Linked DNA regions of Homo sapiens: all the other regions are linked to region 2. Evidence: promoter capture Hi-C in 16 types of primary human blood cells and fetal thymus (Javierre and others, 2016). All regions are on one chromosome and are shown on one strand. The core of a region is centred on a gene start or on the middle of the fragment in contact, and the rest is flanking DNA. Distances in the headings are between cores, read along the strand shown.

The links. The method cuts DNA at HindIII sites, captures the fragments that hold promoters and counts their contacts. A CHiCAGO score of 5 or more calls a contact.
Region 1: a contact is called between a fragment that was not itself captured here and the fragment with the promoter of LDHC in region 2, in 1 of 17 cell types (total B cells). The highest score is 5.4, in total B cells.
Region 3: a fragment that was not itself captured here is called in contact with the fragment with the promoter of LDHC in region 2 in 4 of 17 cell types (activated CD4 T cells, naive CD8 T cells, non-activated CD4 T cells and 1 more); the score reaches 6.5 in activated CD4 T cells.
Region 4: a contact is called between a fragment that was not itself captured here and the fragment with the promoter of LDHC in region 2, in 1 of 17 cell types (naive B cells). The highest score is 5.4, in naive B cells.
Region 5: a contact is called between the fragment with the promoter of IGSF22 here and the fragment with the promoter of LDHC in region 2, in 11 of 17 cell types (total CD4 T cells, naive CD4 T cells, non-activated CD4 T cells and 8 more). The highest score is 14.1, in total CD4 T cells.

The regions. Positions count from the first base shown.
Region 1 is chr11:18,091,201-18,096,403 of GRCh38, reverse strand. It overlaps SAAL1 (serum amyloid A like 1), which reads left to right. Exons shown (of 12, transcript NM_138421.3): 4 at 4,080-4,159. Among named protein-coding and RNA genes, the nearest start is that of SAAL1, 12 kb to the left of the region's middle. The HindIII fragment of the contact is 258 bases long and covers 1,133-1,390 here.
Region 2 is chr11:18,408,480-18,414,096 of GRCh38, reverse strand. LDHC (lactate dehydrogenase C) reads right to left here and starts at 1,779. Exons shown (of 8, transcript NM_017448.5): 1 at 1,689-1,779; 2 at 1,254-1,388. The coding sequence starts at 1,379. The HindIII fragment of the contact is 7,298 bases long and covers 1-5,617 here.
Region 3 is chr11:18,754,112-18,760,000 of GRCh38, reverse strand. All of the region lies in intron 3 of PTPN5 (protein tyrosine phosphatase non-receptor type 5), which reads left to right. Among named protein-coding and RNA genes, the nearest start is that of IGSF22, 31 kb to the right of the region's middle. The HindIII fragment of the contact is 230 bases long and covers 1,923-2,152 here.
Region 4 is chr11:18,112,163-18,118,255 of GRCh38, reverse strand. It overlaps the pseudogene SAA3P. Among named protein-coding and RNA genes, the nearest start is that of SAAL1, 9.1 kb to the right of the region's middle. The HindIII fragment of the contact is 2,382 bases long and covers 320-2,701 here.
Region 5 is chr11:18,721,877-18,727,597 of GRCh38, reverse strand. IGSF22 (immunoglobulin superfamily member 22) reads left to right here and starts at 1,410. Exons shown (of 23, transcript NM_173588.4): 1 at 1,410-1,524; 2 at 3,329-3,470; 3 at 5,557-5,688. The coding sequence starts at 3,362. The region is part of intron 2 of IGSF22-AS1 (IGSF22 antisense RNA 1); the gene reads right to left. The HindIII fragment of the contact is 7,417 bases long and covers 1-3,637 here.

The DNA.
Region 1 (5,203 bases), core at 12-2,511, 320 kb after region 2:
CTCCTTATGTTGCCCAGGCTGGTCTTGAACTCCTGGCCTCAAGTGATCCTCCCACCTTGGCCTCCCAAAGTGCTGGGATTATAAGCGTGAGCTAAATGCCTGTAATAATTTAAAATATTAAATTATTAATAATTTAATAATTTAAAATTATGAAAATCATAGAATTTTAGATTCAGGCCGGACCAGGGAAATTAGCACTTTCATTTACCAGCTGTGGAGACGAGTTAGGCATAACCACTGTTATGCTGCTAGTATGTATCAGAACAAGGAACAGAGCCTGGGCCTCCCATTTTTCAGTTGATTTCTCTTTTTTACTGACAAAATCCACCATTGCTTGAAAACCATTCTAAACTCAGCCTGCTGCTTAAGACCTCTACTCTCTGAACCTAACTCATCTTTCCAGCATAAAATCTGGATAGCCAGGTAACCCTTCTGATTTAGCCAGACCTTTCTACTCCCTGTCTCATGCTGTCTCCGTGCCTCCCTTTGTGTGCCTTCTGTCCCCTCTCAGTATTTGCATCTGTTAATTCACAGTGGTACTTTTCCTTCCACACCTTCCCAAGTAAGTAAGTAAGCTTTCAGTAGTCATTGCTGTTAGTAAACTGCCAAGAACAATAGATAAAGACTAAAGGAGAGGCCTTTATATACTGTGCAGTGTACTGTGCTTTATTGCCAATTAAATTGCCATGTGCTATGCATATCATGGATTAGTAAATATCTGTTCAATAATTATAATTATGAAAAACTGCTGTTTACTGAATACCTGGTCTTACTACTATGAGGTATACTTTCAAAGAACTAAATCTTGGGTGAAGATATGTGTTCAGGGTCACACAGCTAGGAAAGAATGGAGCTGAGATTTCAGCCTAGGCCTGACTTCAGTATAACCACTGTACTGTATTTCCTCTCTTTCAGATTATAAAATGGAGAATTCCATAGTGTATTTTTACAAATTGAATGTTGAATTAGAATTCTTATTTAAGTAGAATGTTCTCTCTGAATTAGGGCCTGATTAACCGTTTTTTCCTTGATTCCTTATATTAATATAAGATTTGATGATTATGCTATTTTTATACTGAGTTTTTCTGTCTTAAATATATTTACTCACTACTAGTATATAAAGAAATAAGCTTATGTCAGGAATGGCACCTTTTAGGAATTAGTCATATTGTTGTATTATATCCGCTGGCCACCGTCTGCTGCCACAGTGATTCTCAGCCTTGGCTGCATGTTAGAATCACCTGGGACAGGGACTCTCAAACTTAAGCATGTCCCCGCATCACTAATTGCCGAGCCTCCCTCCAGAGTTTCTAGTCCAGTAGGTCCAGGATTCCTAATATGTTCCCAGGTGATGCTGGTGCTCTGGTGCATTGCCACACTCTGAGAAGCTTTACCCTAGGGAACTTTTGAAAATCTTGGTCAGGCCATACCCTAGATGAGTTAAAGCAGAATCTCCAAGTGTGAGACTCTGGGCAGCTTTTAAAGTTCCCCAGGTGATTCCAGTGAACAGCCAAGAAAAACTTGATCTTTGATTGGAAGTTCAGTTATTCCCTCTTTAGTTTATAAGGGAAATGTATGTGGTTTTTTTCTGCCCCTACTCACTCTTAATCTTTTCCCAACATTTGACCACCCACTTTTTATTGAAATTCCATTTCTATAGCTCCTGTGTCACCTCACTGTCGTCTCTGACCTCTTCAGTCACTCGTCTCTCACCTTTCATTGGCTTTTTTCTTTCTTCCTTTTTTATACTGTCCCGAATATGGACTTTTTCTAAGGTGTAGGCCCTGATCCTTTGTTCTCATTATATTCATTTTCCTAGTGAACTTATGTGTTCTTTACACCTTTAAGTTGCAACTCTGCCTGTAGGAGCAAAGCCTCGACTTCCCTTCTGATAACTGATGTCACATCTCCAACTTTGTTCAGGCATTCTCTGCTTGCACGCTCTACAGTTGTCCCTTGGTATACATGGGGGATGGTTGCAAGACATTCCCCCATACTGAAATCCACACATACTCAATTTAGCAGTCAGCTCTGTGGAACCTGTGTGTATGAAAAGTCAGCTCTGCATATTGTGCAGGTTTTGCATCTTGAGGACACTGTATTTTCAGTCCAAGTTTGGTTAGAAAAAATCCACCTATGAGTGGACCCACACATTCAAACCTGTGTTCAAGGGTCAGCTGTACTCTCTAACCCTGAATTCTGTATGTCCTCAGTGATTTATGGTCACACTTATCTAATCATAAAAGTCACCTGGTATATGCTGGGTAAACAATAGCTTTCCAGGCTCTACCCTGGAAATTATGATTCAGTAGATCTGAGATGAGATTTGGAAATCTGTATTTTTAACAAGCTCCCTGAGTGATTCTTATGTTCCAGCAAGGTTGGAAACACTGTACCATCTGAACTCATTGTAGCCTTTTATGCACTTTCTTTTTTAGTTTTCCTGTCAACGGGACCAATATCACTGATGGGGAAATGAGGCAACTTGAAAGCTAGGAGTCAAGTTCAACTGCTTTCTCCTTTATCCTCACACTGGATTATTTTGCTTTCACCTTGAGAGTCTTCCTCAGCTTCATCCTTTTCCATGCCTGAGGGCCCTCCTCCTCTTGCATCTTGATAACTGAGGTGCAGTTTGGAATAGTGGTTAAATGCTCAAGCTCTGGAGCTCTGCCGTGTTCTAGTTGGAGATCTTAAGATCTTAGGCAAGTAGCTTAACTTCTCTGTGCCTTAGTTTCCTCATCTGAAAAAATGGGGATACTATTAGTACCTATCACCTAAGTTATTATATGAAATTATACACAGAAAATGCTTAGAGTAATGCCTGGCCACCGTGAGTGGTAATAAACTGTTATTACATATTAATTAACTATTACTGAGATAGATTCTTAAGTTCTTTTCAACTTCTTTTCCCTATACACTAGTCTCCCCTTATCCTTGGGGGTTGCATTCCAAGGCCCCCAATGCCTAAAACCGAGGATAGTACTGAACCCTATTTATAATATGCACAAATTTCCTTTTCCTTCTTCACAGTTTCATGGATAGATTTGTTCTTAGAGATCCTAAGCAACCTCAGCATACATTTTTGTTTGTTTTTCTTATGAAGTCAAGAACTTTTACCTTTTCATGTAAAGAAAGCACTTAATGGCGGCTCCTTGGCATATCCAAATTGCCAGCATCACTACTCTTGTGCTTTGGGGTCATTATTAAGTAAAATAAGGGTGACATGAACACAAGCCCTGTGAGATATCCCGATGGTCGATCTGATAGCCAAGATGGCTACTAAGTAACTAATGGGCAGGCAGCACATACAGTGTGGATATGTTGAACAAAAGAATGATTCACATCCTGGGTGAGACGGTGCAAGATTTCATCGTGCTGCTCAGAAAGGCATGCAATTTAAAACATGAATTGTTTATTTCTAGAATTTTCTATTTAGTACTTTTATACCAAGGTTGACCATGGGTAACTGAAACCATGGATAAAGAGGGACTACACTAATACATTATGCATTTCGCCACCAGAGTAATCTTCCTAAGATACTGTTTCAGTATGTTGTCTCCCCTCCTTGAGCATCTTCATGATTCCAAATAACTTCCCAGATTAAGTCTAATTCTTCAGCACGGCATTCAGAGCCCTTAATCTCAGTCCTTTATACCTGCAGTATTTACCTCATGCTGTTCACCCACTTTGTGCCACAACCAGAGTACTTTATTGTCTACAGTATTCGCCATGTACATGATTCCCTTCCTGCCTTTGCTGATACTTTCCCCTTATTTGAATGTCTGTCTTTTTGTTTGCATATCTCATTCCTATCAATCATTTAAAACTCATTTTATCGATAGAAGTTCTTCTCGCATAGCTCCTGCCTTTGCCCTTTCTTGTTCTTACGTTTTTCATCCCTTCTCAAATACTGTAAGCTTGTCAAGGTTAGGGTACAGGCAGTATATGTATTTCTTTATCCTGCCTCCCCTCCGCCTTGCCCCAAAACTTGGCTCAGCGAAAGTTTTTGTTCAAGTTGATATTTTTGTTTACGTCTTTCGTCTCAGAGCCATTGTGACTTGTAAAATTTGATTTGGCAGGAAATCTGTGTGGGAATTTTAGGTAATATGGCCTGTTTCCAGGAGATATGTGTGTCCATCAGCAGTGATAAAAATCTTGGGTAAGTCTTACTATATAATTATGTTTTTTAATATATTCATTTATATCCTTAAGGAAATTCTAATACATAGGAAAAGTAGCAAATCTGAAAGACAGTCCTTTCTTTGTCTTGATGAACACTCTGTGGGAACTTCATTGTGTGTTGATGATAGCTAGGGGCTTCTTCAGGAGATACTGAAATGATTCAGGATTTAAGCCTGTTTTCTTCAGTAGCAAAGGAACCTGAATTGTCAGCTGGTGGCAATAAGCCAGATAGGGGAAGAACCAGTGGGCCAAAACTTGGAGATGGGGCAGCCAACTGGAATCCAAAACAGTTTAGGGGCAGGGAATCCAATGACTCAGCTGGAGTCTACAGAAACTAGATTTGTTGAATAATGTCATCCTGAGAGCTCTGACTTAGAGTGTAAGACTTGCCAACAACTGGAAGATAAAGGGTTGCCTCTCTGATGAAAAGACTTTCAGATATCTGCTTCGAGGCTCGTTCTCTTCTCCATGTGTAAAGTTCTGGGCAGAAGGTGTTTTAATGGAGGAAACCCCAGTGGTTACTGTGTTCGGAGAACACCCCGAAATTATATGCTGAATTTTGTGAGTGTATTAGTTTTCTAGGCAAAGGGTTCATGGCTTTTAATCAGAATCTCAAAGAAATTTGTACCCAAAATAGGTTAAGAAAACTGTTCTAGGCAGTTTTTGTCAGAGCTGGGGCCATGAGGGTTTTATCACAGGATTCAAGTACCTGGGTTTCTCAGAAAGAGAGAACTCCTAGTTGTGGAGGGACTTTAAGATCCTAGTTCAGAGTATTTATTCCTCAGTAATTTACCATCATCCATGGAACAAATGACTTAAGATTATGTTTGGTCTCTAATGTTCTCTATCAAAAATCCAAAAATGAGAAATGTTAACAAATGTTATAAATTCAGTTAAATGCTTGTCTTAATATTAGTGTGGTGCAATTTATATTGCTGATGGGATATAAATTTGTTGAACCACTTTAGTTGGGCATTATCTGGTCACGTTGGAACATATGCATGTGCTGTGACCAGCTCAT
Region 2 (5,617 bases), core at 530-3,029:
AAAACAAGAATCTAAGAACAAACTGTACAGCCATCTTTACCACCACATAGAAAGGCTCTACGAATTAAGCCAACAGAGAAAATCTAAACCAAGATATACAAAGACTATGTCTTGATATGTGTGAACTTCAGAATCCGGTAGTACCTGAAGCAGTTTTGCCCTATTTCCAGTTACATGAACAATATTTCGTCTTTTTCTGCTTACCCTAATTTAAACTGGGTTTTTGTCACATGTGACAGAGTACGGAACTATATACAAGGAGTGTATTCATTCAGATTTCAATAGCCAGATTCCAAAAGCGAACAGTAAGGGAAAGAAGTAAAAGTCCCTACTTAAGGCCAGGCGTGGTGGCTCATGCCTGTAATCCCAGCACTTTGGGAGGCTGAGGCAGGCGGATCACGAGGTCAAGAAATCAAGGCCATCCTGGCCAACATGATGAAACCCCGTCTCTACTAAAAATATAAAAATTAGCTGGGCGTGGTGGCACATGCCTGTAGTCCCAGCTACTCAGGAGGCTGAGGCAGGAGAACTGCTTGAACCCGGGAGGCAAAGGTTGCCGGGAGCCGAGATCCTGCCGCTGCACTCCAGCCTGGCAACAGAGCGAGACTCCGTCTCAAAAAAAAAAAAAAAAAAAAAAGAGAGAACAATAAACACTGGGGACTCCAAAAGCAGAGAGGGAGGAGGGCACAAGGGTTAAAAACAATACCTATTGGCAGCCAGGTGTGGTGGCTCATGCCTGTAATCCCAGTACTCTGGGAGGCCGAGGCAGGCGGATCACTTGAGGTCAGGAGTTCGAAACCAGCCTGGCCAACATGGAGAAACCCCATCTCTACTAAAAATATAAAAAATTAGCCAGGCCTGGTGGTGCATGCCTGTGGCCCCAGTTATTCAAGAGGCTGAGGCAGGAGAATCGCTTGATCCCGGGAGGTGGAGGTTGCAGTGGGCCAAGATCGCGCCACTGCACTCCAACCTGGGTAACAGACAAATCCTGTCTCAAAAAAAGAAAAAGAAAAGGAAAGTCAGAAAAAAAAAGAAAGGAAAAGAAAGAAGAAGTTTAAAAAAAAAGGAAAAGAAAGAGAGAAAGAAAAAGGAAGGAAGGAAGGAAGGAAGGGAGGGAGGGAGGGAGGGAGGAAAGGTCAAAGGATACATAATTGCTTTCAAGGGATTAACCTTGCAACCCTGAATACATCGACATATACAACACTCTGAAGTGCTCACTTGATTTTCAGCCACAGGATGGGCTTCTCACTCACCTTCAGTAAGATACTAATAGCACAAGCCATGCCTACGGCACCAGTTCCAACAATAGTAATTTTACACTGGGAGTTTTCATCATCCTCAATTAGCTTCTCAATTAGCTGCTCCTTGACAGTTGACATTTGGAGAACCTGATAGGGATAATGCAATTTCATTGGATTAACCACACTGAACATCTAAGAAACTACCTCTTCAGTTTGCAGAATGTTGGAGCCGGGGATGGGGGGAAGCCAAAGAAAGAATTTCCTGGTCAAAGGATGCGGGGAGGGTAAAGCAAGGCCCAGTCTACCAGGCAATGGGAGGGCTGGGGCACCAGCGGGCTTTTGGATTTCTCCCTGCCCCCAGCCACCACTTTCACCCCAGCACCACACGCTCACAAATGCTTTGCTTGGCGCAATCAGTACAGATGACCCACAGGGACAAAGCACCACCTTTGAAGGAAGGCACAGAAGTGACACCAGAAAAATACACCAACGACAGTTGAGGCGCTAAGCCCGTCGACGGTTGCCCTCCGTGCGACTCGAGACACGCACGTTCCCCCGCTCGGCTCTTATGCGTCAGCACGCAAGCTCCGCCCCCCGCCGGCCCAGGCGCGGGCATGGGGCGTCTTTTCTGCCCTGGAGCGCAGTGTGGGTGGCGGCGGTCCAGATCACCGAAATGCTGATGGGAAGAATTCTAGACTGGCCCAAAGAGTGTGCAAGACGGGGATATCCATGCATTGTTTGCAGGATTTTAAAAAATTATTAACTTCTGTAACTTCAGGACTGAGTGCTGAAATAAAGTTAGAATTTCTCTTGAGAGAACAGAGGGTGGTAATGAAACGCAAAGACGCGAAGGATGCTTTCAATTTACAGCAAGAAATTGTTAATATTTATAACTCATGGCCGGACGCGGTGGCTCACACCTGTAATCCCAGCACTTTGGGAGTCCGAGGCAGGTGGATCACCTGAGGTCAGGAGTTTGAGAACAGCCTGGCCAACATGGCGAAACCCCGTCTCTACTAAAAATATAAAATTAGTCGGGCATGGTGGTGCATGCCTGTAGTCCCAGCTACTTGGGAGGCTGAGGCAGGAGAATCGCTTGAACCCAGGAGGCGGAGGTTGCAGTGAGCCAAGATCGCGCCACTGCACTCCAGACTGGGCAACAAGAGAGAAACTCCATCTCAAAAAAAATTTACATATATATTTTTTTTTTTGTGAGAGAGATATATATCTCACAGAAGGGGACACAACCTACTCCATCTTTTGTAGAGTATTTGCATTTGAACCTTTTTCAAAATCCAAAATATAATTTATTTTTCTTATAATAGCCTGTAGTGTTGTTATTGTTGTTGTTTTTGAGACAGAGTCTCACTCTGTCGCCCAGGCTGGAGTGCAGTGGCACAATCTCAGTTCACTGCAACCTCCGCCGCCTGGGTTCAAGCAATTCTCCTGCCTCAGCCTCCCAAGTAACTGGGACTACAGGCGTGCGCCACCACGCCCGGCTAATTTTTGTATTTTTAGTAGAGATGGGGTTTCACCATGTTGGTCAGAATGGTCTCCAACTCCTGACCTAGTGATCCGCCCTCCCAAAGTGTTGGGATTACAGGCGTGAGCCACCGTGCTGAGCCACCGTGCCCAGCCGCCGGGCAAATTTTTTTGTATTTTTTTGTATTTCACCTTGCTGGCCAGGCTGGTCTCGAACTCTTGACCTCAAGTGATCCACCCACCTCGGCCTCCCAAAGTGCTGGGATTACAGGCGTGAACCACCGCACCCAGTCAGTATTTGTTTTCAATATGGTTCAGATTATGCAATAACCCTGCTTTAAACTCTTCCGTGGCTTTCCATTACAGGTAGAGTAACCCACTTTTACCACAACCTAGATCTTCAAGATTTGGCCTCCTACCCCCACTTCCCATATCATCTCAGGACACTCAATACACTTCCTTCCAACTAGGCTTTGGACAGCTTTTTTGGATCAGGACTTTTTGCTGTTCTTTAAACCAAGAAAGCTCTTTCCCCAGCCCTTCTCAAGGTTAATTCCTCATTTTCAGCTTTGCACATACATACTCTGGCTTTCCTTGACAAATGTCAACTACCATCATTTCCTGTATATCTCTCTCTTATGGCACTTTTCTCAACCAGCAACTAGCCTGAAGCTAGAGGCCTCCTATAGCAGACAGGAGCAGCAACCACTTGGTCCTATACCTCCACAGCAACCTCATTTATCCCCGGGCTGAGAGGGAGATTGCTGGCCTGGATGGACTGGAAATTTAAGCTCTACACCTGCCTCAGGCCCCTGGCGGCCAAGGAAGGTATCAGCTTGGTAGTGGCCAAACTGATGCTAGATGACTAGAACTGGCTCTTCATCCATGCCTGCCCAAATACTCCAAACTTACTTAACATTTTGCTTACTTGATTGCAGTAACTTTAGAACCAAAATTTGTCTTTATTTATTCTTGTACATTGCAACATTTACCAAAGCATAGTAGGTACTCACTAAAGAATTTTTGGGCCAGACATGGTGGCTCACTCCTGCAATCCCAGCACTTTGGGAGGCCGAGGCTTCAGCCCAGGAGTTCAAGACCAGTCTGGCAACATAGGGAGACCCCCATCTCTACCCCCAAAAATAAAAACAAAATAAAATAAAATAATTTTTTTTGAGACAGAGTCTCGCAGTCTCGCCCAGGCTGTAGTACAGTGGTCCGATCTCGGCTCACTGCAAGCTCCGCCTCCCGGGTTCACGCCATTCTCCTGCCTCAGCCTCCCGAGTAGCTGGGACTACAGGCGCCCGCCACCATGCCCAGCTAATTTTTTGTATTTTTAGTAGAGATGGAGTTTCACTATGTTAGCCAGGATGTTTTCAATCTCCTGACCTTGTGATCCACCCGCCTCAGCCTCCCAAAGTGCTGGGATTACAGGCGTGAGCCACCGCACCTGGCCAAAATAAAAAAAAAATTTAAAGAATTTTTAAAGAACATGGCTTTGAAGTACTGAGTTTTATTTTGGCAACATGGGCTTTAGTGGGGGAAAAAAAGGAAGTAGAACCATGTTCTGAGCATCACATTTGCTTCTACACTAACTGGCAACTTCTGTGAGATGGGGATAAGGCCTGCTTAATTTAGTTCCCAAGGTTACTATGGAAAAAAAAAATCAAGTTTCTTTGCAGAGTTGGCCTATTCCTTGCCTGGGGCAGGAAGGTACAAACTGAACCTGGAACATTTATTTTGCCCATAAGTAAGGAAACTTTACAAGATTGCATTTGAAAATTCATGAAAGATTAATAGAATCAGTCTATTTCACTTAAATATTATTTTTCAGTCATGTTGGTATTGACTAATTTATTGTATCAAATAATATAAAATTAATGTAAATTTAAAAATTTTAAAGACTGAAGGTGACTCAAAGTTTACAAAAGGCTACAGGATTAAGTACAGGCCTCTTTTTGTGCTAATTAAAATATTCTTTTTTTTTTTTTTGAAACAGGGTCTCACTCTGTCACCCAGGCTGGAGTACAGTGGTGGGATCTTGGCTCACTGCAACCTTTATCTCCCGGGTTCAAGGGATCCTCCCACCTGAGCCTCCTGTGCAGCTAGGACTACAGGCACCTGCCACCACGCCTAGCTAATTTCTTTTTTGTAGAGACAGGCTTTTGCCATGTTGCCCAGACTGGTCTGGAACTCCTGGGCTCAAGCAATCTACCCACCTTGGCCTCCTAAAGTGCTGGGAATTTGAAGCCACTGCACCCAGCCTATATTCTAAGATTAGATACTGGTGATGGTTGCCAACTATGTGAATACACTAAAAATCCACAGAACGATACGCTTTATAGCTGTGTCCAACCCTTTGAATGTGAGGACTCTTTAGGTGGCAGCAGGTATCCAGATCATGAACTTTTTTGTAGCTCATCAGCTATCATTAGTGTTAATTTCTTTAATTTTTATTGAGACAGTCTCGCTGTGTTGCCCAGGCTCGAGTGCAGTGGTGCCATCTTGGCTCACTTCAATCTCTGCCTCCCCGGTTCAAGCGATCCTCTCACCTCAGCCTCTTGTGCCTCAGCTTCCCAAGTAGCTGGGATTACAAGCATAGGCCACCATACCTGGCAAATCTTTCGATTTTTAGTACAGATGGGGTTTCACCATGTTGGCCATGCTAGTCTTGAACTCCTGATCCACCCGCCTCAGCCTCCCCAAGTGCTGGGATTATAGGTGTCAGCCACCACAGCTGGCACATGTTAGTGTATTTAATGTGTGGCCCAAGACAATTCTTCTTCCAATGTGGCTCAGGGAAAGCAAAAGATTGGACAACCAGGCTTTAAGATAATTCCTTCCCTTAACTAGCTCTCAGGAAAGAATCTTTGGAAAAAGATCCTGGAGTTGGG
Region 3 (5,889 bases), core at 788-3,287, 350 kb before region 2:
TCTCGATTCATGTCTTCAGGAACCTGCTGTGTCAAGCATTTTAAGGAGCAGGTTTACCTCATAATGGGCCTCATCCCTGATCTGCTAGCCCCTGTTTTCACAAAGCTCCCCAGAGTGGTGCTTATATTGGTTTAAGCTGGTCTGTGGGCAGGTGCAGAAGCCCAAATGGACAAACCTCCAGAAGATGGACCTGGTTGTAGTAGTACTGCTGAGATGTCACCGGTAGCTGTCAACACTCAGTGGTAGAGGTTCTGTTGATTTTTATTTCTTTGTTGAATTGATGGTTCTGTTTTCATTCAAGACTTCAAATACATTTAGAGATATTTATTGTCATTGATGGTACGATGAGTTTTTTACTTGAGTCTTCAGAATGGATAATTAAAGTATAAACGAAACACCATTTGGATGTGCTAAGAACACTAACTGGGCAGTATTCTGTAACGATGCCATTGTGTTGAGAAAAGAAGTACCATCCCAGGTGCCCACTGGTCAGCAATAGTAGAGGCTAACTATTCTCAGACACCAGGATGGAGCCCATCTAGCTAGGCCTTGGGGTGCTATGGCCAGGCAGCTGGGTTCAAATCCCAGCTCTGCTATTGACCAACAGCATGACCTGTGGTAAATTATCTAACTGCTGTGAGTTCCAAATTCCTCACTCTAGAATAAGGGTAGTAATATGATGACATCTTCACAGAGATTTTGTGAGGATTAATTGAGTTCATGGACGTAAAGTGCTTATTACAGAGTGCTCTATAAATGATAGCTAATAGTGACGGTGATGGTTGTTCCAGGATATGGAATGTGAACAGAAAAAAAACCTTTTTTTCCTTTGTGTTTTTTCTTTCTTTGTGTTCCTGTGCCTGGGGCTCGGGCGTCAGGTCCAGGCCAGTTCTACAGCAGTGGAGTGGGGTAGTGTATCTGGTGGTCCTTTCTTGACTCCCCACCACAGGTCTGAGACCTCACTGAACCAGCACAGCCACAGGCAGGAGTGTTTTATGCTTACATATTTAAGGGGCCAGGGTTGGTGGGGAGAATGATCCTCCGTTTTCCTTCACCAGGATAGAAACAGTTCTCATATTCTAGGGAGTTGCCTGGATGTGTGATGACACTTAAAGAGAGTCTTTGCAACTGAAAGAAGGAATGCATCTGGTCCAGTCCCCTGCATCTTCAAAGGTTGATGCCAATGCCCTTTTAGACAAATGGACATCCATCGTACTCCTAACATATGCAGTGACAGATGCCATTACCTTTCTCTTTGGTCTGGCTCAGGGACAAATCACCCCAGCTCTCAGGAATTCTTTATATCTGAAGAAAAAAAAAAAAAACTCATCCTTCCATTGAAGCTCATTTCTTCATTTCAGATCTCAGCATCTGTTTTGGTTGTCTGTTGCTGCCTGACGATCTCAACACTTAGTGGCTTCAAACAACAACCATTTTATTTGCTCATGACTTGGAGGGTCATGCAGGGTTTAGCTGGGTGATTCTTCCATTCCATGTGGCATCAGCTGAGGTCACTCATTCAGCTGAACACACCTCATTCTGTGCTGGGATAGAATGTCGGAGAAAGCTTTTATTATATGTCTGGCACCTCAGTGCTCCTACCTTGGGCTTCCTCACAGCATGATGGTCTCATGGTAGTTGGACTTCTTATGTGATTACCAAGAAGGAGCACTCTAAGAGGGGCAAAAAAGAAGCTTCAGATCTCTTAAGGCCCAGCTCCAGAAGTTACACAATGTCACTCCACTACATTTTGTTGATCAAAGCCAGTCACAGGGTCAGCCTAGATCCAAGGGATGGGAAGTAAATGCCACCTCTTGATAGGAGGAGTGCAGAGAATCTGTGGCCATCCTTCATCCACCAGCACATCCTCTTTATAAGCTTTCACATTCCTCCTAACACTAGCTTCATCCTCTCCTAAAGCTTCCTCCCCTTGGCCTTCATCCCATGTCTCATTCTTTTCCCCAACCTTCCACTATTTGAGCTACTGACCCTTTGTTGCTTAAATCTTCGGCTCTTTTGCTCTTCTCTTTTCTTTGGCTCTCCTCCCTGCTACTTCAAAGAGCACAGCTGTGTGCAGTCCCACCCCTAACATTTGTAAGGCTGTATATGTTATGTCTAGATAGCTAACTGTTCGAAAGCAAGCTGATAAGCTTTGAAAGGAAATATGTTGTCCTTCCACTCTGACGAATATTCATTTGTAGGGAGTTTAAAAGCCAGGTTCAAATAGAGAATTCTGAGTTCTGCACCAAAATATGGGGTCTAGGGAAAGCCAGTCTCCAGTCCACCCCTGCTCTGTCCAGCACCACAAGGACACTCATGAGCACTTGGGTAGATGGGTACCCCAGCCCACACATCTGAGCTCCAAACACACCTTCTGCAAACAGTCACCTTAGCCAGTTCTAGGAATACACACAGCACAGTGTACTCTCATGAAGCAGTCAAAAAAGAGGGCCACCAGGTCCAGGAATCAGGCTGAGGAGCATTTGACCAGGGAATCTGGGGTTTTGAATATGTGGCCTTACAGGGAGAATGTCCCTTTGGTTCCCTGGACTCCTTACCTGTGAGGAGGAGCATACCTGATGGAGGATTGGAGCAGGGCCCTTCAAAGTGTGAGATCAGGATGAGGGACATTTTCCTGGGTGTAAAGACAGTGCTGAGTGTGTCTGCCCTTGTATTGGGCATTGCCTTTCACTGATGGGCTTGGACAAACCCTGCACTGCTCCATCCCTCCCATGAGGCATTTCCACTGTGAAATGAGAAAAGCAATTTTTTTCATGGTAGTTATAAGAATTCAGTGAGACAATGGATGGGAATGGGGATTTGTAAACCATAAAGTCTTATTCACAGCTCATTTTTTTATGGTTTCTTATTGTCGGATTCAGAAGCCCTGGATGTGAATGAATTTGGACTCCGCCCTTTTTGAGCTTGGATCTTGCATGAATCACTTTACATCTCTAAACTTTGGAATTTCACACACACACATATGAAAATGATGTGTGGGACAGGTGGGGATGTTTATTAGGACCTTGGTGCTGTTTCTTTTTGTTTTGTTTTTGTTTTTTGGTTTTTTTTTTTTTTTGATGGAGTCTTGCTCTGTCACTCAGGCTGGAGTGCAGTGGCACGATCTTGGCTCACTGCAGCCTCCACCTCCCGGGTTTAAGCAATTCTCCTGCCTCAGCCTCCCGAGTAGCTGGGATTACAGGCATACGCCACCAAACCCGGCTAATTTTTTTTTTATTTTTAGTAGAGACGGGGTTTCACCGTGTTAGCCGGGGTGGTCTCGATCTCCTGACCTCATGATCCGCCCGCCTCGGCCTCCCAAAGTGCTGGGATTACAGGCGTGAGCCACCGCGCCCGGCCGGTGCTGTTTCTTTTTAATTCCAAGTGGTTAAAACCTGAAGGATGGGCTGGGTGCAGTGGCTCAGCCTATAATCCCAGCATTTTGGGAGGCTGAGACGGGTGGGTCACATGAGGTCAGGAGTTCAAGACCAGCCTGGCCAACATGGTAAAACCCTGTCTCTACTGAAAATACAAAAACTAGCCAGGCATGATGGCTTGTGCCTGTAATCCCAGCTACTCAGGAGGCTAAGGCACAAGAATCACTTGAACCCGGGAAGCAGAGGTTACAGTGAGCAGAGATCATGCCACTGCACTCCAGCTTGGGTGACGGAGTGAGAATCTGTCTCAAAAAAAAAAAAAAAAAAAAGTGAAGGATGTAAGGGACCAAGAAGAGTTATCAGCAAAGAGGGAACTAGGCTGTCTGAACCAGACATAAGCCAGATGTCAGCTGGGGTAATGTTGCCTTTTAAAATACAGATGAGAAGCCTGCCCAGAATTTCCCATTGCACACCATTTTCCTAAACAAGACAAGGCTTTGCATACAGCATCCTTCTTCTGAGGACCAGTCACTAGCCTACCCCATCTCAGCCCTATTTGGGCTGTGCCTGACGTGACTATTAGATATTGAAAAAGATCATCTTTTTTTTTTTTTTTTTTTTATTTAGAGTCTCACTCTGTCGCCCAGGCTGGAGTGCAGTGGCACGATCTCGGCTCACTGCAACCTCCACCTCCCGGGTTCAAGCAATTCTCCTGCCTCAGCCTTCCAAGTAACTGGGATTACAGGCACATGCTACCATGCCTGGCTAGTTTTTGTATTTTTAGTAGAGACAGGGTTTCACCATGTTGGCCAGGCTGGTCTCGAACTCCTGACCTTGTGATCTGCCCGCCTCGGCCTCCCAAAGTGCTGGGATTACGGGAGTGAGCCACCGCGTCAGGCCCAAAAAAGATCATCTTTTTTCCCATATCCCTGTTGAACATCACCTAGCTTGAGGCAAACCCCTTATCAATCACAAGCAAGACCATTTGGAATTGTGCATCAGTCCTCTACCCAGCCCAGTGCCACCCTCTGCCAGTCTTGAGTTAGCCTCCCAGTGGGTCCTGGTATCCAGAAGCAGGGCAACCCGCATCCTCTTAGGCCTGTCTCTCCTCATTGGGAATACAGCCTGCTATGAAAATCCATATTACCTGAGGAAGGGATAAAACCGCTTGCATTAGTTATATTTTGCTACATAACAAATTACCCCCAAAACTTTGTAATTTAAAACAACATTCCTTATCCCCCACAGTTTCTAAGTCAGGAAACCAGGAATGACTTAGCCGCATGGCCTAAGTCAGTCTGGCCTGATCTCTCACAACATCTCAAGTTGTTGACCAGGGCTGCAATAATCCCCAAACTCGACTGTGGCTGAAGAATCCACTTCTAAGCTCACTCACAGGTGATTGGCAGGCTCCAGTTCCTTGCAGCCTCTGGGCCAGAGGTCTCAGTACCTCGCCACACAAGCCACTCCACGAGCTGCCTCAGTGGCCACACTGCAGGGCAGCTGGTTCCCCACAGAGTGAGTGATCCAAGAGAGAGCACACGAGGGAGCAAGAGTGTGTCCAAGATGGAAGTCACAGTCTCTTAGGACCTAATCCTAGAGTGACATGCCTTCACTTCTGCTGTGTGCTGTTGGTCATGAAGACTAACCCTGGTACCACGTAGGAGGGACTGCACAAGGATGTGAAGACCAGGAGGCAGGGTTCACTGAGGGCCACCTTGGAGGCTGTCTGCCATATTGCTTAAAAGTTGAATCCTTGTAATCCAAAGAGGCATAGTCTCAGGATATGCCTACGTACAAAACGATGCACGAGGTAAAAGTGCACCTACAATGAGAGAAAAGTACATCAAAAGGAAAACAACGCCTTTCTCAGTGAGGCAAGAGTATGGATGACTTGGTTTTGCTTTATGCTTTTATTGTAGGGGGAGGTCTTCGTATTTTCTAAAATCATTAAGAAAAAATGATTGGCCACTCCAAAATACTAATTAATCCTTGCCAAGCAAGAGTGATAGCTGGTGAGAGAGTGGGCCCTCTGAGTTGAGTCACCACCCTTTGGGTTGATTGGTTCAACTTGGCAGGTGGAAACATGGGGCTGACCCAACCCTAGGGATCTTAATGGGGCTGGTTATTCTTGAAGACAGCCACCAAGGCATGGAATTCCCCTCTCCCTGTAGAAAGCCAAGAACATGACTCAGAGGTCATGTTGGTGAACCAGCTCGGAGGAAAGGAGATTCAGGGGTCTCCTTGACAGTCGGCTGTGCTGCAGCTCAGTCCATGAGTCTTTCTCCGTTCGGAGTTGTTGATTCCCAGACAGCCAGGGTTTCTCTCTCTCCAGCTCTCCCAGTTCCAGGATGCAAACAGGGTGAAGGGCCCTCAATTTCCGTTCGTTGTTTCCCCCATTGGACCTTGGCTCAACTTCCAACTCGGTGGTTTTGTTTTGGGTTTACTTGGAGAGGAAAAGGTGGTTTTCAAGAATTTCTAGAGCATCTTCCATCATACTCCTCAGTGCATG
Region 4 (6,093 bases), core at 261-2,760, 300 kb after region 2:
TTCTTCATTTTATATTTAGGGAATATAAAGTTCTTCCCGCTGGTCTTCTAAGACTGGGGCTTAGGTCTGAGATGTCATTCTTAGTCATGATACCTGTGGACTTTTGGGCTTTTCTGATTTTTGTTTTTCTAATTCCTAATAGAATTAAGCCTTAGTATTCTCCTCTTCTACTTAAATTAATTGTAACTTAAAAGAATGGAGGTGTCTTGGGCCTCTCAATCAGCCTGGTCACACAAGGTTATCAGAGTAGTGCTACCATCTGATTTACTGTTCAATCCAGGCCATTGTAGACAATGAAAAGATGTGCCACTATTAAGCTTGGACAATAGACACTGATCTCATGCAAACCAGCACACGTAGTCACTTGTAAGAGACTGTTGGAAAATCCCTTTAAGGCCTGGGGACTCTGATATCATGACAGGAAATCTTTCTTTTTCAGGAGAAACAAGTGAAAAGAACTGACTGCCGTTATTGTCTATTATTCTCAGCTTGGCACCATAAGAAACTGCGTGTACCTTCCCGGAAGGCAGAATACATTAAGTAACAAAGGAAGAAAACAGGCAAGGCTTGTCAAAGTCCCTGTGAGGAGTTCCTCTTGGTATCTAGAAATCATACTCGCTTTCTTGCTCTTTTTCCTGTGAGTCAGTGTGTCACTTTGTCACCCAGGCTAGAGTGCAGTGGTGTGATTATGGCTCACCATAGCCTCCAACTCCTGGGCTCAAGCAGTCCTCCTGCCTCAGCCTCCTGAGTAGCTGGGACCACAGGTGCATACTACCACACCCCGCTAATTTAAAAAATATATATACAGATATATAGTGGAGATGGGGTCTTGCTATGTTTCCCAGGTTGGTCTTGAGTTCCTGGCCTCGAGTGATCCTTCTGCCTCAGCCTCCCAAAGTGCTGGTATTATAAGCATGAGCCAGTGTCTCCACGCCACTTGCTTTCTAATACTTCTGTATTAGTCCGTTCTCATACTGCCATAAAGAAATGACTGAAACTGGGTACTTTATAAAGAAAAGAGGTTATATTGGTTCATGGTTCTTTAGTCTGTACAGGAAGCATAGTGGCTTCTGCTTCTGGGGAAGCCTCAGGAAACTTTCAATATGGCAAAGGCAGAGCGGGAGTGAGGCATCTCATATGGTGGGAGCAAGGACAAAAGAGAGTGAGGGGGGAGGTACTGCACACTTTTAAATAACCAGATCTCAAAAGAATTCACTCACTATCACGACGACAGTACCAAGGGGGATGCTGTTAAACCTTTCATGAGAAACAGCCTTCCTGATTCAATCACCGCCCTCTAGGCTCCACTCCCAACATTGGGAATTACAATTGAACATGAAATTTGGGTGGGGACACAGATCCAAACCATATCAACTTCTATCAAAGAAGAGAATGACTTGAATAAAACGAGAAAGTAGATTTCCAGCATTGAATGGTTCCAAAGGGAGTAAAATAATTGTGACAGGATGTGATCATTGGCCCTCAATTTCTGCCTGAAGAAGAGTAGGAAAAAGGAGGTCTGGACATCACATGCCCTGCTTTATGAAGCAGCTCCTCCAAGTACACCATGACCAGTGGCTGTGGATGGTTGACAACTCCCCTCCTCTTCCCCCTCTTCTACTGTCTACTCCTGGGACCAAGTGAGCCACGCCAGCTCAGATACTACACTGACCACAGGGAATCCCACCTTTTCCAAGGAATGGAAGTTGTGTAGGGAATATTCAAATGTTGCTTAGCATTGCCTTAGATAAGAACCAAAGGGACAGGGAAATCCTCTGACAGCTATCTGCCTTATAACTTTCATTTTACTGTGCCTAAAATATGCTCAGAACCCAGAAAGAGGCATAATTCCTAATTTTGGCAGGCTCTAATCTAAAATAATGATTCTCAAACATGGTGTGACTTTTGTCTATTTGCTTTATCCTGGGTCACTGCTCCTCTTCTGTCAGATACTGGGATTCCAATGAGACAAATGGAAATGGAGACGTAGACCCTCTGACCTTCTATCTTTTATCTATACACATACACCTGTGTGTGTGTGTGTGTGTGTGTGTGTGCGTGTGTAAAACCGAGTGGGTTTTTTTCTTGGAATGAAAGAATGGACTAACATTACAAAAAATAAAAACTTGAAACAGAATGTGTATTATCCTTGGTTGTGTTTCCTTGGCCCTGCAGCAGGATGAAGCTCTCCACTGGCATCATTTTCTGCTCCCTGGTCCTGGGTGTCAGCAGCCAAGGATGGTTAACATTCCTCAAGGCAGCTGGCCAAGGTGAGGTCCACAGGATAGGGGGCAGGAGGCTGCTTCTGGCTGCCCCCAGGATGCAGCTGAGCAGAGGCCACATCCCCACTGGGCAAAGGTGCTAGTGATGCCACAGATGGATAGAGAAGGGGCATGGTTTTTCATAAGCGTGGTTCCTCATGCTTTTCTGGACAGCTTTGACACTCTTCTATGAGGATCCTCCAGCCGAGGTCGCATAAGGTGTGAGCTGCCTCTTTTCAGCAGGACCATGAGAGAGATGTGGAGTTGAGGGGTGCATGTTCCCATAATACCGGTGGGGCTCTACTGCCCCCTAGTGGGAAATCTGGGACAGTTCATGTCTATGTCTCCTGGGAAGCCAGGAAGCAGGTGGATCAAAAGTGTGAGGCGAGTCCATGGGGAAGCTGAACGGAGCCAACCGTCCCCATAAAAACAACCAAGCTTAGCTGAGATTTTAATACGTACTAGGCACTGTTTAAATGTACTAATGAATTGGTTTCCATCATTTAGTCCTATGATGCAAGCAGCATTATCCCTTAACAGAGAAGCTAACACACACACACACACACACACACTAACACACACACACACACACACACACACACAAACCCCAAGATACGTAAAGAAGTTCCAAAGCAGAGCAGGATTAACCCAGGCAGTCTTGCTCTGCAGAACTTGCTCTTAATCAAGGTACTCTGCTGCTTTCAAAACAAGAGTTTCGGATTTGTGAACACATAGCTCATCCTTTATCTAAGAAATGGCAAATAGGATGTGGTGCCTTTGGAAGGTAAGTCTAGCTCCACTTATCCCAGTAAAACCTACAGTGAATTACCTTGATGGTGGTTCTACTGGGGCTTATATATGGCCAGGAAACTGCTAGCAAGAGAAATATACCCCGAGGGCTGGGCACAGTGGCTCACACCTGTAATCCCAGCACTTTGGGAGGCTGAGGTGGGCAGATCACCTGAGGTCAAGAGTTCGAGACCAGCCTGGCCAACATGGCGAAATCCTGTCTCTACTAAAAATACAGAAATTAGCCGGGTGTGGTGGCATGCGCCTATAATCCCAGCCTCTCGGGAGGCTGAGGGAGAAGAATTGCTTGAACTCAGGAGGCAGAGGTTGCAGTGAGCTGTGATCACACCACTGCACTCCAGCCTAGGAGACAGAGCAAGACTCCATCTAGAGAGACAGAGAGAGAGAGAGAGGGAGAAATATACCCCACTAGCCATAATAAAGTGGCAAAATTTTGTTTTCAGAATGCAGTATTTTAAATTTCAGGTATTATTATTTTTCTGAGTCTCTGAAAAATGGTTTTAAGGATTTGCTTTTAATCCTATTTACATGTTCACACACTCAACTACAAATATCTTTCATTCCTTAGGTTAATATTTTTCAAAGGGTTGTTCTGGGACCACTTGCGTGAGAATCACCTGGATTCTGGGATGCTTTGTGAAATGAAATGAAGATTCCCGGGTCCATACCCTACCCCCTGCCCCCAGCAGCCACAGTCTCTTGGGACAGAGCCTAGAAATCTTGCCTTTGCTAAGCACCTCGGTAGATTTTTATGCACAGCAAAGGTTGAGAACCACTACCTCTTGTTTTGCTGCTGAAAGTGATAAAATGTGCCAGGAATTTTGGAAGTACTTATTAAGCCAATCTGAACATCAAGGAGCCATTTAAGTCAGTAACTCAGAGGAATAAGTAGAGTAAAAATGTCATAAACTCTCAATAAAAGCAATCAATTTAACACCAGGAGTAATAAATGCATAAAATGAAGATGAGTTATCTAATAGAGAAATTATATAAACCATGATTATAACTCTATATTTGAGTTCCCCCTTTTCCGTAATCAGTTAATTTTCTAAAAAATCTTCGTCACTTAATTCTAGCTTGATCAGATCCCTTCAGTCCGTAACTCCCTGCTCCTCATCTTAGTTTAGCCCTTCTTTTTTCTTATGCCACCTTTCCTAAGGACCAGAGAAGTGAAATGATAATATATTGGCCACCTACAATGTTCTAGACATCATACATGTATTTTCTCTGCTCTTCTGCATAATCACTGTGAGGCAGGCAATACTCCTCCATTTCATTGGGGAGGACATTGAGGTTCTGAACTAGTGGGTCAGTTGTCCTTTTTCTGAATTTGATTACCCAGTAGTATAAAGCTTTCTTAGGTAACTCACCTTTATCACTTGCTGACTGAATTCTGACAGATGTCAGTTTCTAATTATAGCCTGGACATTCAGATGTATTCAGGACCAAGTTGTCCTCACTCTACCTACAGGCATGAATTTCTCTCATTGACTAGGTTAGGAGCGCCATATGTCTGCAGCCTCCCTCAGAATCCCCTGTGTTCTCACACCAGGGAACTGAGGGTTCCCTGGGTCCTTCCAGGTAGAAGTTCATTGTACAATGAAACATCCCTTAAGGACCATTTCATCTCTTCTTTAGGTGCATCACACATGGTTAAAACAAAGTAATAACAGAACTTAGAATGGAATCAAACAGAATGAAACTTACACCAAGTACAATTCTCATTACATTAACCCAGAGAAGTGAAAAGTAGAAGAATATTTATTTCAAGCCAATATAATTTCCAAGGGCTTTGTTGAAGGCTGAAATCTTCGGGAGGAAAGTAGTGAGAAGAAAACTGTTCATTCCTCTATTTTCCCAGTATATAATTGTTTTGATCATTTTCTTTCCTTTCCAGGGACTAAAGACATGTGGAAAGCCTACTCTGACATGAAAGAAGCCAATTACAAAAAATTCAGACAAATACTTCCATGCTTGGGGGAACTATGATGCTGTACAAAGGGGGCTTGGGGCTGTCTGGGCTACAGAAGTGATCAGGTAATGCACATTCCTGATGTTGCCAGGAATGAGTGAGCAGAGCTTGACTGCCTTGGACAGTCAGGAGAGAGGTAAGCTCCTTGCAGAGAAGTTAGAGGCTGCAGCCCCTCCTCCTCTTGCCCTCTCTCTGCCTGTGTGCTTAGTGCGAGGGTCTGAGTGGATGGTAGAAGTGAGTGATTCCTCACCCTCCCTCTCTGGGTGCTGTTCATCCAGCCTAGGGGTGCCCAGCCTGGCTGAGTGGGGCAGTGCCCAGGCAGGGTCATTGTTTTCACCCCTCCTTCCTTGGCCTTCCTGGGCTTCTCCCAGAGTCCTCCCTTGGAAAGCAGAGAATGGGAAGGTGGGCTGTTGCTCACTGGCCTGGTGATTAATCTCCTTGCTTGCCTGGACTACAGCGATGCCAGAGAGAACGTCCAGAGACTCACAGGAGACCATGCAGAGGATTCGCTGGCTGGCCAGGCTACCAACAAATGGGGCCAGAGTGGCAAAGACCCCAATCACTTCCGACCTGCTGGCCTGCCAGAGAAATACTGAGCTTCCTTTTCAATCTGCTCTCAGGAGACCTGGCTGTGAGCCCCTGAGGGCAGGGACATTTGTTGACCTACAGTTACTGAATTCTATATCCCTAGTACTTGATATAGAACACATAAAAATGCTTAATAAATGCTTGTGAAATCCAGTTTGTTATTGGAATCTGGAAGCAGAATATGACAGTCTTCCTGGGATCATGGGCCTGTTTAGTACCATAGGGATGACCAATAAACATCACTGTTTTATTTTTTAAAACATAAAGCACTAATGCACAATAGTGGGAATTGGGGAGAAAACTATATCTATACATGGACCACATTGTATGGACCATAATATGGACCAACTATAAGCCTATAATTATATGGTTCATAAAATAGAAAAGATAATAAGATAATCCTATGAACAACTTCAGTAATGAAGCCTAAAACTAAATTAAAAATCAACAAATCATAGAAAA
Region 5 (5,721 bases), core at 161-2,660, 310 kb before region 2:
TAAGGAGACATTCAGGTCACACCCAGGCCCCTCCCTGTTGGCCAAACTCTTATCCCATGTTAGCTCCACAGATCCCAACAGCAGCTGCAGCCCAGTAATTTCCCTTGTAAGGCCTGGGCTCAGAGTAGCTCCTCCCAAGGGGCCCAGGGAATCTGCATGTGGGCTGAGATCCTGAGCCATCCTGGACACTCCTGCTCTATTCTTGTCCCCTGCCCCCCTGGGATGGAGCAAAAGTAGCCATGATGCCACTGCTGGCAGGTGGGGGTCACCCCAGGGCAGAAGGAGGGGTCCAGGGCAAGGGTGCTGACCAACAAGTCCTTACAAGGTGCCAGAACCTTGGGTGGGATCCAGGGTCCAGGCATGCGGGGTGTGCTACAGATGATGAGAAAACAACAGGGTGGGCTGGACACGGTGGCTCACGCCTGTAATCCCAGCACATTGGGAGGCCGAGGGGTGGCAGATCATGAGGTCAGGAGTTCGAGACCAGCCTGACCAACATGGTGAAACCCCATCTCTACTAAAAATACAAAAATTAGCCGGGCGTAGCGGTGCACGCCTGTAATCCCAGATACTCAGGAGGCTGAGGCAGGAGAATCGCTTGAACCTGGGAGGCAGAGGTTGCAGTGAGCCAAGATCGTGCCACTGCATCCAGTCTGGGTGACAGAGACTCCATCTCAAAAAAAAGAAAAGAAAAGAAAACAACAGGTGGCTGAAGCAGCCCAGATGGAAGTCCTTGAGAAGAGGTGGCCATACTCTCCAGTCACCCTCAAGCAGAGACCTCCCCACAACCCCCGGAGGATGGGCCCTCCTACTCTTCTACCCAGATTAGGGAGATTGGGCTGTTGAAGTGGGAAGAGGAAGGAGACCTAACATTTCCCTGTTCTTCCCCAGGGTGGCCTTGTAAAGATACTCAGGCTGTGTATGAACCACACATAGGAGTGCAACATGAATGGGAACCCCTGGATTTGTGTAGCAACGCAGCAGATCCCAGAGGCCCTCCCCAGTTCACCGTGTCCCAGTCCCTGGAAAATACAGACCTGTTGCTTTGCTCCCTGAGCCCTGCTGGACTATGCATGCACCTGTACCTGAGTGTGTGCCTGTGCACACACACTACCCTGAGCCCCTCAGCTCAGAGAGGTCCTACCCAGCAGCAGTGAGAGCCAAAACCTGTACCACAAGGGAACAAAAAAAGTACCCCTGGACTGCCACCCTCAGCCTCCTTCCCGCCTGGCCTTCAGTGTTTCCCCCAGCCTGGATCCAGCTTTGCTTCCCGCCTCCCTTCTCCACCGCCCTCCCCCTCCCCCCACAACCAAGCAGTGTGCCATCTAGCTGAGACAGCTGCAGAGCCTGACTAAGGAATCGCCCCCAGGGGGCCAGACATTTAAGGAACAGATGACACTGGTAGCCTCACTGTTGGGGCAAAGGAAGAAGGAGACGGGCCACCCTACAGTCCAGGCACTAGCTGAGCCTCCAAAGCCGTGGACACAGCATTCGAGTGTTGGGAGGGACTGGTCAGTGCTGAAGGTAAGGCTCCCCTCCTCCCTCAGGAAGGGGACAAAGCTGACCACCTTCTGAGCCCAGAGGGGACTATAGGGTAGAGGGCAGGAATAGGAACAGGGGAGTAGTCTCAGAACCCAAAGGTAGAAGCAGCCCAGGCAGAGATATATTAGGGGGTGGAGAGAGGGAATAGAGTTTAACCCCTAACTACCTGGGTTAAAGAAGGCTTTGGAGCCCTCTGGGACGCCACTGGACTGGAGTCAAAAGCTAGGAGTCTAGTCTGAGTGACCTTGGACAGGTCATTTCTTTCAGACATCAGTTTCCTCATATACGAAATAGGACTTTAAAAACTGCAATGCTGGGCCAGGCGCGGTGGCTCACGCCTGTAATCCTAGCACTTTGGGAGGCTGAGGTGGGCGGATCACGAGGTCAGGTATTCGAGACTAGCCTGGCCAACATAGTGAAACGCCATCTGTACTAAAAATACAAAAAATTAGCCGGGTGTGATGGCGGGTGCCTGTAGTCCCAGCTACTCGGGAGCCTGAGGCAGGAGAATTGCTTGAACCTGGGAGGCAGAGGTTGTCGTGGGCCAAGATCGTGCCACTGCACTCCAGCCTGGGCAACAGAGCAAGACTCTGTCTCAAAAAAACAAAAACAAAAAAACTGCAATGCTGGCCACATGCAGTGGCTCACACCTATAATCCCAGCACTTTGGGAGGCCAAGGCAGGCGGATCAATCGAGGCTAGGAGTTTGAGACCAGCCTGGCCAACAAGATGAAACCCTGTCTCTACTGAAAACACAAAAATTAGCTGGGCATGGTGGCACGTGCCTGTAAACCCAGCTGCTGGGGAGGCTGAGGCAGGAGAATGGCTTGAATTCGAGAGGAGGAGGTTGCAATGAGCCGAGATCACCCAAAAAAAACCGCAATGCTGGTTAAATAAAACATTGAGAAAACATGGTGCTCTGAACAGGAATGAGGAAACGCTATCATCTGGTATGGAAAAAATCTCCAAGACACATTAAATGAAAAAAGAAAGGGTCAGAATAGTGTGTATAATGGGCTACCTTATGTGCTTTTTTAATTAAAAAAAAAAAAGGAAGATGATAAGAACACATGAGTTTTCCTATTTGCATGATGGAGGTCTAGAAGGAGCCTAGAGACTGGCTACCTGTTGCAATGGGGAAGGTTGTAAGATAGACGCAGGAGTGGGAGGGAGCCTGTCCATATGGATTTTTATATTGTTTTATTCTTTAACTATGTGATTGAATTACCAGTTCAAAGAAAAATGTAAGAAAAACTAAACCTTTGCCTTTACCATGTCGCAAACACAAGCAGAATTGTAGTGATGTTTTGTCATCTGTTTTAGCATTCCACCAGTGCCGGGGTCCCCAGGGCCCAGGAATAAGAGACACAGCTTCCTTCTAAAGCCCACTCCAGTATGGCTTAGTCAGGAAGTTCTTTCTTAGGTCTGACTGCATTCCCTCCTGATGAAACATCCAGCACTGCCTCCTTAGTGCCATGTAGCTATCAATAGGTATCCTCAACTCCCTCCAGGCCTTACTTGGTTGGCTGGGTAAGTCTAAGCCCTATAACCTCTCCCTCTGAGACCCTGGAATAGTTTGGAGTTACTCAGTGAGAGGACAGGCCTATTGGGTCTGGTAACTAACCAGGAAAAGGAAGCTAGGAAATGAAGAAAAGAGAGCTCGACTGCTCTCCTGGCCCTCTCCTGTGTGCTTCCATCTCCTCTTATGTCTGAACACACACATAACATCTCTGAATCTCCCTCCTACTCCCTGTCTTGTCCTTCATGGCCTCATCCTCTTCCCCAGTCTCACAGGTGAGTGCCCACGCCTGCTGTCACCATGACAACCATTCACAGCCGGCAGATGCTGCAGGAGCACGTGTCCATGGAGTTCTCCAGCTCCACCACCCACGTGCAGACCTTCTCCCAGACAACCAAGATCGTGGGAGGCAAGTGGAATGGGGGCAGGGAAGGGATCGGGAAGGGCAGCTATTCTTCCTCCACACCCATCCCTTGGGTGGCCCCAGTTTTGCCACTAATGGGCCCCTCTGGAGCCCACAATACCAACAGCAACCCCCACCCAACGTGTGCTTCTAATCTTGGCTTTGTTAAAGCTTCAGCCAGCTGGATGTTCAACACAGATCAGATCTCCAGGAAAACAGCTTAGAAAAGATCAATCATGTGGATGTGTGTGAATGATTGATAAACTCTTAATTGCTGAAGGAGATCAGAGCCATAGGTGAACAGATTCTATCTCCAAAGGTAGAATTTCAGGCATAGGGGAAATTAGGAAGGTAGCCACCTTATCTACATATCAGTAATGCTGACCCTGCTCCACTTAAGAAATAGGAGACTTGGGGCTACCAGTGGAGAAAGAAGGTGAACACATAAACAAGAAGGTGACCTTACCTTCCAGGCTTTTAGCCCTCTGGGGCCAGACTTGGAAGAGGGCAGATCCAAGGGAAAGCTGAGAAATGGTCTCAGAGCTGAACAGAGTGTTTTAGTCACGTCTCTAGTGGAAAGAGATTAAAAGATGGCCGGGGGCCAAGACATTGGATACCCCTTCTCACAGTCATTGCCCCTCCCTCAAAGCCTCAAAGGGATAGAGTCCCTCAAAGTCCTCCGTGCACAGAGGTCAAGGCCAGATAAACACTCTATACCAACCAACACCTCCTGGCCAGTGAGGCAGAGCAAGTGGAACAGCTGGGACTCAAGGCCTATGGTCTAGACCAGAAGTTCCAAACTCAAGTGATTTACAGCAGTGATTCTCTGCTGTGGCCGCACATCAGAGTCACCTTAGTGCAGGGGGTGTGAGGAGGGCAAAAATATGGCAGTACCTGAGTCTCACCCCAGACCATTCAATCAGGTATTTCTTATAAAGTTCTCCATGGATTATATATGTGCAGCCAAAGCTGTAGACCACTGACCAACAGGGCCCAGGCAGGGAACATAAATGTGGGGAAAAGACTGGGGTAAACTAGAGACTGTATATCCCATCTAAAGGGGCAGCCACTATTCACCTCCCACTGACTGTTGCCATATGGGAATACAGGTTCAGTGTTGAGAATCCAGAAATCTGAATTTTTATGTGAAATCTTTCTCTTTCAGATGTAGGGCTACTTTTTTGTTTAAACATTGTGGAGGTCACATAAAAGACATCTGCAGGCCAGGTGTCCACTGCACTCTGCCTGTTTGAGACCTCTTGTTAGTATTTAAAAGCAGGCCATGAGAGCTTCTTAACACACTTTTCCCCCTCTGTCAGATTAGTGGGATAATAAAGGCACCTACTTCAGTGGGATGCTGTGAAGATGGAATAAAATCATCTCTGATATGTGCCTAGCACAGTTCCTGACTCAAGGAAAGTGTTCCATGATTCAGAGCAATTGTTGTGAATTGATAACTCACCAGCCAAGAAGATTGTCTGTAGTTTTATACTGCAAAAACAGTTTTTTTTGTTTTCCAAATATAAAATTATATTTCCACATTGAAGATGTGCTTTCAGATAAGGATATTCCCATATATAGCTCCACTGGAGTGGGACTGTGTCGTGTCCTGTCCCTCACTCAAGAATCACTACTCCCAAGGCAATGAATGCTGAACCCACAGAATGGCAGGGAGAAAATCTAGAGCAGAGCTCAGCCAAGCTGCAGACCTCCCAGGCAGAAGCAGGCCTAGCCCCTCTTAATGCTACTGGGGGACCAGGACTTCCAGGAGAGAAGCCTAAGAGACCAAGAAAATTCCAAAAGAGAAGCCTCCTTTAAAAAAAAAAATTAGGACTCAGGGCTGTGGCCCCATAAAGGTAATGGACCACTGAGGTGTGGGAAAGGAGTTCGCCTCCCCTAGTGGTTGAAACTTGCCATAACACAATGGCCCATCGACTCACCCTGCTTTCTCCCCATGTAGCTGGTCCTGCTCCCACTTCCCTAAATGCTCTTTGTTCCCATGCTCCACCGTCCTCTCAAGAAAGCTCTGTCCTCCCATCGCGAGCTGGGCTTCTACCTGGAGCCCATTCTGACCTCTCGCCTGCCCCCACAGAGGAGGTCGTGAGGAGGAAGTCCTCGAGCATAGTGGAGTTCTTCAGCTTAGTGACCCGGAGCTCAAACATCCCTGCGGGCGACAGCGTCCCTGAGTTCGTGGAGAAGCCTCAACCGGTCACCGCGCCCGAGGGTGTGTTGCTGCCTGTGGCTCACCGGGCTCCAG